Regions from separate parts of the Homo sapiens genome. Here region 2 is linked to region 1. The links are contacts of gene promoters, found by promoter capture Hi-C in human tissues and cell types (Jung and others, 2019). All regions are on one chromosome and are shown on one strand. Each heading gives the region's core, a stretch centred on a gene start or on the middle of the fragment in contact. The rest is flanking DNA. Distances are from core to core; before and after follow the strand shown. Region 1 holds the start of DACT3 (dishevelled binding antagonist of beta catenin 3). Region 2 overlaps ARHGAP35 (Rho GTPase activating protein 35).

Region 1 (2,638 bases), core at 69-2,568:
CAGAGAGGTTAAGTAAGTTTTCCAAGGTCACACAGCTGGAAAGTGACAGATCTGTGACTCACCCCGAGGAAGTCTGGCTCCTGGAGACTTTGCTGTCTATCGCCACTATCAATTTCTCTCCATCTCACCACCAGAAGGTCACTTCGTGCACGGGGAATCATAAAAGAGGGAATTTCTTGTATGATCTTCTGGGCCTTGGCTTTTAGGGAGCCAAGGTCTGTCTGAGAGATGAGTATGAATATTAGAGCTAGGTCTTGGAAGTTGGTAGAGGCAGGCTCGGCGTAGTGATACAGATTGGCCGCCTGAGGGTGCCCCAGCCCTGCTTGCGGAGCCTGGAGAGACAGCAGGAAGCCTTGGAAACGAATGTCAGGCTCAGACTCCTAGGACCAGAGAACGTTGAGAATAGAGCATCATAGAAGGCTGAGAACAAAGCCCCTTAGAACGTAGAACAAAGGCCCCTGGAATGGAAGAATGATGAGCACACATCCTCCTAGCACCTGGGAGACAAAAGCTGCTTAGACTCTCTTCTGGTCAAAGCATAGAATCTTCCACCCAGGGTCTTATAATTCCAGAATTTGGAATGCAATCGATCTTAGACTCTTAGCAGCAAGACCGGCTACATATTTGGCCTAGTGCAAAGTGAAAATAAGGGGCCCCTTGCTCAAAAACTAAAAATTTCAAGACAGAAATTGCAGAACATTCAACCAAGCGCGAAGACCCTTCTAAGTGGATTCCAAGCCGGTGAAGCCGGCCCTAAGTAGAAACAATTTCATCGGAGGACGTCCGTCTGGTTTTACAGCTGAGTGTCTGGGAAGGCTTCTTGGAAGAGGAGGCGAAGTCAGGGCTCGACCCCCTAACCCTTTTCTCCCCCTGCGCAGCCTCAGAAGCTGAAGGTTGGGCGGGGTGGAGGGGTAGGAGCAGCTGCCAAACTGTCACGTGTACCCATTCCCTATTTATAGATCACCCTTCCCCTCGCGCCGGACAGTCCAATGGTAGCCAGCGCTCGCCCGCAAGAGGGTGGAACCTGCTGCAGGACCGGCCAGGCACAGACCAATGGCATTGAAGCAAGGGCGGGCTTGTTTCATTGTGACGCGTGGGGGGGCGTGGCCAGGGCCCCGAGGCAGTTGCACGGAGGGGGCGTGGCGAGCGGAGTGAGTAGGCAGTTGCGAGCATGCGTCGTGTTGGGCGGTGCGGTTGCACGCCCGAGAGTCTTCGTCAGGAAGCTTATTCGCCAATAGGCGGCTGTTGCTCGGTCGCCGGGGGCGTGGCCATGCAGATAAGGCGCGGGTGGGCGGCCCAATGGGCGGGCGCCTATGCAGATGAGACGGTGACAGCCCGGCCAGCGGGCGGGCGGGCAGGCTGCTGGGGCGGGGAGGTGGGACCGGGAGAGGGGTGGCCGCGGGGCCCGGCCGGGCTGGGGCGGGGGGCCGCAGCCATGATCCGGGCCTTCTCGTTCCCGGTGAGCCCTGAGCGGGGCCGGCTGCGGGGCTGGCTGGAGGGTAGCCTGGCCGGGCTCTGCGAGTTACATTGGCTCCGGGAGAGGCAGGAGTACCGCGTGCAGCAGGCGCTGCGGCTGGCCCAGCCCGGAATGGGGGGCGCCGAGGCCGAGGACGAGGAGGACGCCGATGAGGATGAAGATGCGGCGGCGGCGCGCCGGGCCGCAGCGGCCCTGGAGGAGCAGCTGGTAAGGGGCTGCCTGTCCGTCCGTCCCTCCACCCCCGTCTGTGTCTGTCTGTCTCGGTTGGATGCTCAGACACCGGGCGGGGGTTGGGGACCCGGGTAGGCAGGGAGTGAGAAAGGACAGGGGGTGGGGCTGGCGACCCCGGAGTTCCGGCGGCGGGCCGGACCTGGCCTCCCCGCCCCCAAATCGGGGGAGGGGGAACTGCATCGCCCCCACTGGGGCCTCGTGAGAAACACAGGCCCTGTCTCTTACACCCCTTCCCCAAAGAAAATCCTTGTGGGCGCCAAGTATGTGTCAAACCCGAGACCGGGTACTTTGCAGGCGTTGTCTTCTTGCGGCTTGGGAAACGGGGTGATAGTCCCCATTTAACAGAGAAACAAATTGAGGCTCAGAGAGAGCAAGCGACTCACCCAAGGTGACACAGCCAGGCTCCAAACATGCCCTTCTCTGGGCCCCGCCACCAGGGCTCCATCTTCCCTAAGTCCTGGTGTGCTTGGAGATCTCTGGAGGGGGCGGGGTGGGAGGAGGGGAATCTCAGGGCCTCCAGAGGGAGGGACCACTGCTGAGAGGAAGCTCACAGTCCCTGAGGACCCCCCACTGGGATCTTGACCCTTTGGTGACACTTCCCCTGCTTCCTACCTGGCCCCAGCTCTCCTTGACCCAAGGGGAGGCAGGTCGAGGCAGCGCCTGGGGGAGACTTCTGGACTCTGGGTGTTCTCATGGTGGAAGATGGGCAGAGGTCTCCGGAATGACTTGAGGACGCCCCATGCCTCTCCCCTTTCTATGTCATTCCTTGAGTCTCCCGATCTCGTCCTGGGTTCTGTCACTCTCTCCGTCCTGCCACATCCCTGTGACTTTCTGTGTCTGCTTCTCTTTCTTCATCCTGTCTCTCTGTCTCTGTGATCTCTGTGTCCCTCTGCATCTGTCTCCTTGGCCTTCCCTTCCTGCCTGTCTGCA
Region 2 (2,638 bases), core at 39-2,538, 310 kb before region 1:
GAAGACACTAGTGCTGTCTCCCATCCCTGGTTGCTCCTGAGAGTGGAGCAGTGCCTCAAGCAGTCCGACAGAGTGTATGTGCCAGACAGGAGAAACCACCAGGCAGTGAGGAAGCTTTGTCAGAGCAGGTCTCTTCTCCAAGGACCCACCTCAAAAAGAACACAGGCCACTGCAGACTCAGTGAAAAATTTTAAGTAGCAAACCTGGAGTAAAACATCTATCCACCTATCCTCCGTTTATTATGATTATTATTTCACAACCGTTTTATTGAGATATAATTCACACAACATACAATTCACCCACTGTGAGAGTGTCCAATTCGATGGCTGTGAGCACATTCAGAGTTGCACAAGTATCACCACAATTTTAGAGCACTGTCATCAACACCCAAAAAACTGTATCCATGAGCAGCCACTCCAAATTTCTCCCTTCTCGCAGCCCCTGGCAACCACTCATCTACTTCTTTCTATTTTTTTTTTGAGACAGTCCTGCTCTCTGGCCCAGGCTGGAGTGCAGTGGTGCAACCTTGGCTCACTGCAACCTCTGCCTTCCAGGTTCAAGAGATTCTTCCGCCTCAGTCTCCTGAATAGCTGGGATTACAGGCACACACCACTACGCCCGGCTAATTTTTGTATTTTTAGTAGAGACAGGGTTTCATCATGTTGGCCAGGATGGTCTTGAACTCCCGACCTGAGATGATCTGCCTGCCTTGGCCTCCCAAAGTGCTGGGATTACAGGTGTGAGCCACTGCACCCGGCCCACTAATCTACTTTCTATCTTTATAGATTAGCCTATTCTAGATAATTCTGTGTAAATGAGATCATGGGCCATGTGATCTTGTGTGACTAGTTTACCTCACTTAGCGTAATGTTTTCAAGGTTCATCCATCTGTAGCACGTCACTACTTTGTTCCTTTTTACGGCCGAATAATATTCTACTGTATGAATATATTATATCTCGTTATCCATTCACTCATCAGTGGGATATTTGGGTTCTTACCATTTTGGGGCTATTATGAATAATGTGGCCTCCATATTATTTTGAACCCAAATTCTGAAGTGACCTACAGATATTTCCCCAAACTCAGGAAGGATGTGTGTGACACTTTGTGGCTGGCCTCCAGCCGAGGGACAGCAGGCTTCCCATTAGCCTTGCCGGTGGATTCCCTTGCTTTCTTCCCTCCTGCTCTGCTGACCCACAGCTCCTTCTGTCCAAGCCCATTTATTTAGATATCCCACCTAAATGTTTCACACGCATGCCCTATCAGCAACACACATGCTGTGCCCCTACACTAAACACTGGGCATTTGCTCCTGCCCAGATACTGCCACCTTGCTCAAGACCTTAGTGTTATATGAATCTTCTTCCTCCTCCCTTTCTATGTATACAATTCCACGTTTCCACCACTGAATGAAGCTTTTGAGGGGAGAGGTCTCTGGAGTGTTTCTGTGCCATTCAGTCATTCATCATCATTTACTAGAGCCCTGTATGCTTGGCTTGGAGGAGACAATGAAGATGACCCGGTCCCTTCCCTCAAGGAACTTAGGATCCATTGAGGAAGGAAGACAATCAGAGTACAGTGTGCTACGTGTTCACTGGGAAAGCACAGGGCGTGACAGACATGGCAGGGAGCCCTGGCTCACAGAGCAGGTCAGAGAAGGACTCCGGGCGTGACAGACACGGCAGGGAGCCCTGGCTCACAGAGCAGATCAGAGAAGGACTCTGGGAGGGAGTCTCGAAGTGGAACAGCAAGGAAAGGCAGTGCGGGTGAGAAATATAATGGCAGCTTAAGGAACTGTGCGTAGTTTTAATCTGTGGGCTGAAGTTTAGAGTGAATGAAGGAAATGGCAAGAGGCAGAGCTAGACAGTGGGCAGGGACCACATCCTGCTGGTAAGTAGTAGGATGAAACTTCATCCTAGAGTGATACAGAACCACTGATGAGTTTTAAGCAGGTGAAGATGAAGTGATCCCATTTATTTTGGAAAGATATTTGCAGCAGTGTGCATAAGGGACTGAAAGGACATGAGACCAGAAACAGGAAGGTCAATTACAAAGAGGCTACCACAGTAAACCAAGAAGAGGGTGAGAGACTAAACGCAGGGGCAGGGGCCAGGCTGAAAACACGCTTAGGTGGTAAAAACAATGGGACTGACTGATGAGGTTGACTGGTGTGGGAAGGTAACAAGGGAGAGACCCCCTCCCCATGGAGGACATGCTGTTGACTCAGGTCAGCAGATTCTCTGGGATGAAAACCTTCAAACCCTACCTTCCCGCAAATGGTAACGGTGAGGGCTGACAAGCTTTCTCAGGAGTGAGAAAATCCTTCTTCCAAATGAAATCTTAAACTGAACCTTAAGGCTGAAGGATCCAGAGTCCTGGTGGCCTGACCTTTCCCGTCCCCATGCAGAAGGACTCCCTTACAATTCTAGGGATCTGAGAAAAAAAAAAAAAATCTGAAAAGCCCAGGCCAAGTCCAATTGCTGGAGGCTGACGTTCAAAGGATTTTAGGGCAATATGGCTACGTGGTCAGCACGGCCTCTCACCTCTACACCTGACTCTCATTCAGTTGACTTTCCACACCTAGACTATTCCTCCCATCCTGTTAGAGAATCCAGTGTATCTTTAAGGACAAGCCTCC

The links. The method cuts DNA at HindIII sites, captures the fragments that hold promoters and counts their contacts. A contact is called where the count stands out against the background at its distance.
Region 2: a fragment that was not itself captured here is called in contact with the fragment with the promoter of DACT3 in region 1 in 1 of the 25 tissues and cell types used here (dorsolateral prefrontal cortex).

The regions. Positions count from the first base shown.
Region 1 is chr19:46,659,862-46,662,499 of GRCh38, reverse strand. It overlaps DACT3 (dishevelled binding antagonist of beta catenin 3), which reads left to right and starts at 1,318. Exons shown (of 4, transcript NM_145056.3): 1 at 1,318-1,684. The coding sequence starts at 1,436. DACT3-AS1 (DACT3 antisense RNA 1) reads right to left here and starts at 2,136. Exons shown (of 3, transcript NR_040042.1): 1 at 2,092-2,136. RefSeq lists silencers at 941-1,060, 1,271-1,520. The HindIII fragment of the contact is 5,076 bases long and covers 1-2,638 here.
Region 2 is chr19:46,966,926-46,969,563 of GRCh38, reverse strand. The region is part of intron 3 of ARHGAP35 (Rho GTPase activating protein 35); the gene reads right to left. Among named protein-coding and RNA genes, the nearest start is that of NPAS1, 52 kb to the left of the region's middle. The HindIII fragment of the contact is 4,877 bases long and covers 1-2,638 here.